Regions from separate parts of the Homo sapiens genome. Here region 1 is linked to region 2. The links are contacts of gene promoters, found by promoter capture Hi-C in human tissues and cell types (Jung and others, 2019). All regions are on one chromosome and are shown on one strand. The core of a region is centred on a gene start or on the middle of the fragment in contact, and the rest is flanking DNA. Distances in the headings are between cores, read along the strand shown. Region 1 overlaps TBC1D2 (TBC1 domain family member 2). Region 2 holds the start of GABBR2 (gamma-aminobutyric acid type B receptor subunit 2).

Region 1 (3,986 bases), core at 868-3,367, 480 kb after region 2:
GAGGTCCAAGATCAAGGTGCCGGCAGATTCAATGTGTGGTGAGGGCTCCCTTCCTGGCTTGCAGATAGATGGCCACCTTCTCACTGTGTGTTCACGTGGCCGAAAGAGCTCTGGTCTCTGCTGCTTATTCTAAGGGTACTGATCTTATCAGGGGCTCCACCCTCATGACATTAAATCTGATCACCTCCCAAGGGCCCCACCTGTTAATACCACCACGCTACTAAAAATACAAAAGTTAGCTGGGCATGGTGGCCAGTGCCTACAATTCCAGCTACTCAGGAGGCTGAGGCAGGAGAACCACTTGAACCTGGGAGGCAGAGGTTGTAGTGAGTCGAGATTGCACCACAGCACTCCAGCCTGGGTGACAGAGTGAGACTCCGTCTCAAACAAAACCAAAAACAAATGTACACATGTGATAAAATGGCATAGACCTATACACACATATTGTACCAACACCAGTTTCCTAGAGTTGATAGTGTACTATAGCTATGTAAGATGTCACCATCAGGGGAAGCTTGGTGAAGAGTACTTGGGACATGTCTGCACTATCTTTGCAACTTCCTGTGAGTCTATAATTTTTTCAGAGTAAAAAATTAAGAAGAGGCTGGGCATGGTGGCTCACGCTTGTAATCCCAGCACTTTGGGAGGCCAAGGCTGGAGGATTGCTTGAGCCCAGGAGTTCAAGACAAGCCTGGGCAACACAGGGAGACCCTGTCTTTACAAAAAAATAAAAAAATTAGCTGATCATGGTGCAAGCCTGTAGTCCCAGCTACTTGGGATGCTCAGCTGGGAGGATCACTTGAGCCAGGGAGGTCGAGGCTGCAGTGAGCCGTGATCATGCATGGGTGACAGAGTGAGACACTGTCAAAAAAAAAAACAGAAAAAGAGAAAGAAGAAAAGAAAAAGCACCCTTTGGAGCAGTCAGTGCCTGGCAGAGCCCTAGAGAGCACAACAAGCAGTCCAAGAGAAGGCCAGTGCTATATCGGATGAGTCACCATCATCATAACACTAGCAGTTACTTCATGCCAGTGCGGCAGTAAGCATTTTTTTTGGCAACAACTTTATTAAGATATATTCATGTACTATACAATTCACCCATTTAAAATGTGTAATTCAGTGGCTTTCTGTATATCCTCAGAATTATGCAGCCGTCACTATAATCAATTTTAGAACATTTTTATTACCCCAAAAAGAAACCTGCACCCTTAGTCATCAACCTTAATCCCCACTGCCCCATAACCCTAGGTGGCCACTCATCTTTCTTTCTCTATGGCTGTGCCTGTTCTCGACATCTGCTGTGAGTGGAATATACCAAGGAATATACCATGCTGTGACTGGCTTCTTTGACTTAGTAGAATCTTTTCAAGTTTCATCTGTGTGTACCAAGCACTTTACCTACCTTGACCTATTTAATTCTTACAGCAACTGGAACTGTATATATTGTATATATTGTTGTTATCCTCATTAGATTAATAAGGAAACTGAGGCATGGAAGGGTGGAGTGACTTGCTCACGGCCACAGAGTGAGTGACAGAACAAAATCTAATATATAAAGCAGATAAATCCACCATAAGTTGAAAATATCATAAGTTGAAAATGCATTTAATATACTTAACCTATTGAACAGTATAGTTTTGCCCAGTCTATCTTAACCATGCTTGGAACACATACATTTGGGCAAAATCATCTAACACAAAACCTATTTTCTAATAAAGTGTTGAATATCTCAACACTGTGTTAAACTGTGTTAAACGGTGTTTACACTGTGTTAAACAGTGGTTGTAATCAGATTTTTAAATGGAGGAAAAGATTATTTTTATGTCAATAAATCTTTTCTAATATGTACAAATGAGTTTCTTGAACACTAATAAAAAACACCTAAATTCTTTTTGAGACTCTAAATGAGCTACAAATTAAAAAAAAAAAAAAAAAAAAAAAAAGCAGAGTTGAGGCTGGAGTTGGAGTCTGGACTCCTCCTCTGCTCCTCTTACTCCACCTTCCTCTCCCAGTCAGCCCTTGAGGCACTCCTATGAAATCCAGGGCACTGATTGAACACCACTGTCTTAGGCCTTATTTTCTCTAATTATAAACTGGGCACTGTGAGGCCTGCCCTGCCTGTCCTCAGAGTTGGTGCACAGTCATGTATCAGAGGGCAGCAGTGCTACAAGGAGCTTCCCTGCTCCCCTATACCCCATTACAGGAAGGAGAAAGAGGTAGTACATATTTCTGAGCTCTGCAGGCTGCCTTGTACCCAGTGTAACCTGATTTCTCTTCGATCTGGAACAAGACTGTTCTGGTTTTGCACTCAGCAAGGCACTGTTGTTTTGTTCGTTTGTTTTGAGTCAGAGTCTCGCTCTGTTGCCCAGGCTAAAGCGCACTGGCATGATCTCGGCTCACTACAACCTCTGCCTCCCGGGTTCAAGTGATTTCTGGCTAATTTTTGTATTTTTAGTAGAAACGGGGTTTCACCATGTTGGCCGGGTGGTCTCGAACTCCTGACTTCAAGTGATCTACCCGCCTCAGCCTCCCAAAGTCCTAGGATTACAGGCGTGAGCCACCACGCCCGGCCGAGCAAGGTACTGTTTTTGCACTCAGTGTCTGGTTCCTGTCACCTACTGGAGTAACTCTTTATTTGTTCAAGACTGTTTGGCCAGCCCTTGGCCTGGTCTCATGCTAAGTCATTTGGCCTATCCCCAAAGCCCTGCGTGTCCCCTATCCTGGGATGCCATACCACATTCTTATTTTCAACACCTTTAACACTTTAGTCCCAAGAAATAGGTAATAGTTTACTAAAATGCATACTCCTGCAAATGAGTAATTTGGTTAGGAGATTTAGATAAGATCAATTTACGATCCTACAAAATATCTGAGAGTAGGCAGTAAATGTGGCTGTAAGCTCAGCAGCCAAGGCAAAGAGGGAAATGCAAGCAGCTAGATTATTTCCAGTGTCCATAAGACTAAAAACATATTTTCTTATAAGAAGCAAAGCTTTTCTTGGAAGTTCCTAGGGCTGAAGGGAATTTCTTCTGCTGGGGACTCATAATAGGCATGATGTATATATCCCATGTGAACAAGCTTCTCAAGGGCCCTTGGCTACATAGTCAGGCCCTTAAATGTCCCTTGATGCAGGCTGATGGCAGAGACCAGAAGCACAGCTGGGTCAGGGCAGGACAAGGCAACACAAGGGAATGATTCTCTGATGTTTGGTTTGATTTAAGAATAAAATTTTGATGACTTAAAAACAGTGGGTGGCAAACATTTTTTGTAAAGAGCAAGATAGTAACGATTCGAGGCTTTGTGGGCCATAGGGTTTCTGTTTTAAGCACTCAGTTCTGCCTTTGAGGAGTAAAAGCAGCAATAGACAGCACATAAACAAATGGGCATGGCCGTGTTCTAATAAAGCTTTATTTGTAAAAGCAGGCTGTGGGCTGGATTTGGCCTGTGAACCATAGGTTGTAACCCAGGAGATAAAAGGACTATGCATCCTTGAGACAATCAACTGTGGGGGAAATATATCTCTTAACTTAGCTTGGAATAAGAAGAATCAAGTTAAATGCTTGAGCTGCTCTCTGGAGCAAGAATGCAGAGTACAGACATTCATTTTGTGTTCCTATCATCAGACAGATCTGTGTGCTTTGAAAATCTCCTAGTACATAGAGGTGGGATCCTGAAATAAGGAACAGAACATCCTGCCAGGGCTTGTGCCTGAGGAGAAAGCCACTTGGCAAACACCAGCAGGGTGGCATGAGATAGACCAATGCAGGCTGGGTGGGATCTGAAGGAAGGAGACAGGCACAGTTTAGCAGATGGGCCAGCACAGTGCAATAACGTTTATGTAGGCCAGTGGTTCTCACAGTCTAACCCCTGGACAAGCTGTGTCAGCATCACCTAGGAACTTTTTAGAAGTGCATATTCTCAAGCCCTGCCCCAGACCTATTAAATCCAGAGCTCCGAAATTAGGGCCCAACCATCCGCATTTTAACAAG
Region 2 (4,480 bases), core at 924-3,423:
TCACCCCACCATAAAAGAAGACAGAGGGGCTGTAGGGCAGGATGCCAGGTAGGGCCTTCAACCCCTTAGTAAATGTCAGGCAAAGTTACCCAGCTTTCAACTTATTCCCAGATGTAGGTGTCAGTGGACACTCTATATTGGCACAGCTTGCAAGGAGGACACAAATGACTAAAGGAAAGAATTAGAAAAAAGAAAAAAACCAAGTGAAAATGTTCATTCAGAAACCTGAGCTAAGGGTTTGAGGAATGGCAGGTGCCAGAAGACTATGACTGGAGGATATTTGTGATGTCAAGTGAGACAGCAGTTGAGCGAGTATCTGGGGATTACACTGTCCTTTGGACCATTTCTTTCCCTCCCTCCCTTCCTTCCTCCCTTCCTGGAGGAGATGCTCAGGTGAGTTCTGTTCATGCAAACCCTCCAGCTTGGGGAAAAGGAAATGCCAAGTGGAGCCGGGAGAGGTGGAGTCTATAGAAGCCTGGAAAGAGAAGTTAGGGCAGAGAGAATTTGGCCTGGTTTCCCTGGCGCTGTCCAAGGTACTCTCTAGTAGTTCTGCTCAGCCTCCACTCACATCTTTGTGCTTCCTAACAACTCAGCCTGGATTCAGAGCTGCCCTTGCCTCACTCCAGTAGAGCTGGTGTGTGGCCATCATCATCATCATCCGGTCCAAATCCCTCACCATATGCCGGAGGGAATCGATGTCCAGAGCAACTGAGTCAGGGCAGTGCTCCTCCTGGAGAGGAAACTTGCAGTCCCACATCCCTGGCTCCCACTGCACTGTGCACGGAGTTCCTGCTGGCTCTGGGTTCCGGTCCTTCAGTAGCTCTGTGTGCTTCCACTAGCTACAGAACCTCTCTGAGCACCAGTGTATTCGCCTGTAAAGTAAGGGTGAGTAACACAGTATGCTTACAGGGCAGTTGTGGGGATTACATCATAAGGCACACAGTAAGTACTCAGCGAAGGTCAAACTTCCATTCTTGTTACAAGGTCGTCGATATCTTCCACAGTCCCTGGTTCAGGCTCAAGTATGTTTTGTGATTTGATGTCCTACTGTGTTCCTCGCATTAATCAGCCCCTGGGACTTTATAGATTAATGATCACGTTTCCTATTCTTGAAGTATGCAGAGGCACAAGGAACCCAAGGTCTTAGGTCAGCTCACTCGGGTACATCTGGCTCGGGACTGCTTTGGCTAAGATTGGCCAGTGCGACCTGGCAGAGAGAGGGCCAAGTCCAGGGGCGCGCGGCCCCGCCCTGGCCTGAGGATAGTGCTCCCACCCCGGGAGACTTCTAGGGCGGGGCCCATCAAGAATGGGGACGCGGGGAGGTCAAATGCCTGGAGGGGGCGGTAGCGCACGTAAGGTTGGGACCCCAGCTTTGCTTGGGGTTGGCAAAGGGCGGTCGCTCCGTCTGGTGGGGAGGAAAGGGGTGTCCTCAGCCAAGGCCCTAAAGGCCGGGCAGCCTGGCACCAACGGGCGTTCGAGCACCCGTGGGCGTCTTCAGCGACCCCCGGGACTCGGTCAGGGGCTCGTGGGCGCCAGAAAAGAACGGGAGAGCGTAGGCTGCAGATGCCTCTGGGACGCCTTCGTGGAACATTCTCCTGCCCAGACCTTCCCGGCCAGACCTCCGAGAAGCGGTTCCAAACCACCGTGCAGGTGCTACAGGCAGCGCTCGGCGGAGCGGCGGCGGCCACTGCGTGTGCCAGCGCGCGGTCCCGGTTCCCAGATCGCTGTCCCCGGGCGCTCTGGTGCCTGGAGGTCAGCGGTCGGCGGGCAGCGGCAGCTGGCGCAGCGGAGGGCCGGGGGCGCGTGTGTGCGTGTGCTGGGAAGGTGGCCCTCCCCGCGGCCGCCGCAGCGCCAGCGCCTCCCCCTCCCCCGGCGCGCACGGCTCGTCCCCGTCCCTGGAGGCGGCCCGAGCCGCCCCTGAGCAGCCTCGCCTTCGCCTCCCGCGTTTCCTGCCGTCCGCCCTCCCCCGGCCGAGCTCCAGGGGCTGCCGCCTAGCAGCTCCCGGCGGGAGAGCGGTTCAGAGCGCGCACGGGGGCGGGCGGAGGCGGCCCGGTGCGGGGCGGCCGCGCTGGAGAGAGGCGCGCGCGGAGACGCCGGCCCCCCTCTCCGCGTTTGCTCGCTTGCTCCCCGCCTCCCGCACTCCGCTCGCTCCCACCCCTTCCCGGCGTGATTGATCCGTCACGGGCGCCGCCGCTGCCGCCGCCGCCGCCGCGGCCGTTCTGAGCCGAGCCGGAACCCTAGCCCGAGACGGAGCCGGGGCCCGGGCCGGCGCCATTGCGCGGGCGCCGCGGGAAGACCTTGGCGCGGGGCGGCGGGCCGGGCCAGGCCATGCGGGCCGAGTGAGCCGGCGCCCGCAGCCCGCGGCGCGGCATGGCTTCCCCGCGGAGCTCCGGGCAGCCCGGGCCGCCGCCGCCGCCGCCACCGCCGCCCGCGCGCCTGCTACTGCTACTGCTGCTGCCGCTGCTGCTGCCTCTGGCGCCCGGGGCCTGGGGCTGGGCGCGGGGCGCCCCCCGGCCGCCGCCCAGCAGCCCGCCGCTCTCCATCATGGGCCTCATGCCGCTCACCAAGGAGGTGGCCAAGGGCAGCATCGGGCGCGGTGTGCTCCCCGCCGTGGAACTGGCCATCGAGCAGATCCGCAACGAGTCACTCCTGCGCCCCTACTTCCTCGACCTGCGGCTCTATGACACGGAGGTGAGTGTCCGGCTGCCCCTGCCGTCGGGGCTTCGGGGGGCATTGGGGTGGGTGGTTTGGACACAGGCAACCTCCGGCCTTTGGTCAGATCCCCGATTGACCGGCCCGCGCCTGCCGAGGGCAGAGAGGGCTGGTGCCCAGTGTTCACCCCCGCGGTCCTGCTGGGCTTGGCTGGCACAGCTGGTAACATTTGCCAAGCACCCCCTCCTCTGGTCTTATGTGTGTATGTGTGTGTGGGGAGGGGTGGGGGTGGGATAGAAGACTGGGGTCTCTTTTGACCAGAGAAAAAGGAGTGGAGAAGGTGGGGGCTGGACCCCCAAAGGCCTACATTGATTGTCCCTGTCCAGGTCCCGCTCATGGGGCTGCGAGGTACCGAGTGGGAGGAACAGGCGCATTGACTGCAAACTGGGCCACCCAGGGCCGGAGGGGCCGCGGGCCTGCTCACAGGCCCCCAGGGAAGCCGAGCCGCGCTTTGAGGTCCGGAAGGCTCCGGAACCCAAGGGGCTTGAGCGTGCAGCGTGGCTGGGCGCCTGGTGCGCGCCAGCAGCTCTGAGCCCGCTCCGCGCGGGCAAGTGTGGGGCCACCGGCTCTGCAGCGCTTCTGCCTGGACGTGCCCGGCGCTGCCTGTGGCCAGAGCGATTTCAGGAGACCCCTGCCTCGGGTTAGTTGCTCAGAAAGTGCCCTGGCAGTTCTCGTCCCGGACGTGCAGTGGTGTCCGGCCGCGCCGCTGCTGTTGGCCGGGCGGCTGCAGGCAGTTTCTCACGGCTCAGGCTTGAAGCATCCGACCTAGCAGCCGGAGCACAGACTTGGAGAGCAGTCCGGAGCGGAGCCAGAGAGCCAAGGGCTTTCCATCCCAAGACCCCTCCCCACGCCCTCGGTTTGGGTTCTGCCTGAAGCCCCAGAGCGGACCTTCACCGCCAGGCCGGGGCTGGAGCGCGCGGAGCGGGTCTGGAGGAGCGATCGCTGGCCGCGCAAGGTCGGGTTTGCGAGTTTTTCCGGACCGAGCGAGCCCCTGTGCTCCGACCGCAGCGTCTGAGACGCGGCCTGAAGGGGGCAGTGATTTCCTGTGCAGTACGCTCGGTTGGCGCCTCTTCCATCGCGCGGAACGGGGCCGAGGCGCTGGGCTTGATCCTGGCTTCCTGGGACTCTCCGGGCGCTTCTGCTGGAGTCCAGGTGCAGAACCCTTTTGGGAGGAGGGTCGCGCTACTGCTCTGGTGGTGCAATCTGGGCTTCCCCTCCTCCTTGGTCGGACCCTCTTTATGTCCCCAGAGAAAGAGCAGAATCTAGATTGTATCTTATTCCCTGCCTCCCCCGCTTCACCGGTGAACCAGCTTGCTCTGCGCTGTAAATAAAAGGTGAAGGAACCGGTGGCAGTTGGCAGCGGTACGCGCAGGCTGCTGCAGGCGGAGAGGCGTCCTCTGCCCCAGAGGATGCAAGCTGGCTGGCTGTGCAGGGCTAACCCGGTGTGAAATCATTTCCGAATGACATTCCTATCGCCCTCGTCTTTGCCTGAGCATCTCAAGTTCTGTGGGGGTACTTGTCTGGCACACATAAATGGAGACAGCAATGCAGTTACACGGAGGCATATCTTCTTGACAGTTTCTCTGTTGCTACTGCACATATTCTTCTGGAGGGGTCACTGCAAAGCCGGTCTTTTGGGGACAAACACATTTTTAGATAGGGCAGCCCTGCTTGCATCATCACCAAGTATTGTCAGCTGCATAATGTTTTCATCATCAGTTTCTTCCCTTTAGAAAGCTTCCCTGAAAGAGATTTCATACTGGCCTGT

Evidence for each region. Contacts are between HindIII fragments. The study calls those that stand out against the background at their distance.
Region 1: a contact is called between a fragment that was not itself captured here and the fragment with the promoter of GABBR2 in region 2, in 2 of the 25 tissues and cell types used here (H1 embryonic stem cells and thymus).

The regions. Positions count from the first base shown.
Region 1 is chr9:98,229,234-98,233,219 of GRCh38, reverse strand. All of the region lies in intron 4 of TBC1D2 (TBC1 domain family member 2), which reads left to right. Among named protein-coding and RNA genes, the nearest start is that of MIR6854, 2.0 kb to the right of the region's middle. The HindIII fragment of the contact is 4,287 bases long and covers 1-3,986 here.
Region 2 is chr9:98,706,628-98,711,107 of GRCh38, reverse strand. It overlaps GABBR2 (gamma-aminobutyric acid type B receptor subunit 2), which reads left to right and starts at 2,173. Exons shown (of 19, transcript NM_005458.8): 1 at 2,173-2,691. The coding sequence starts at 2,371. RefSeq lists enhancers at 787-1,081, 2,834-3,404, 3,976-4,480. The HindIII fragment of the contact is 12,748 bases long and covers 1-4,480 here.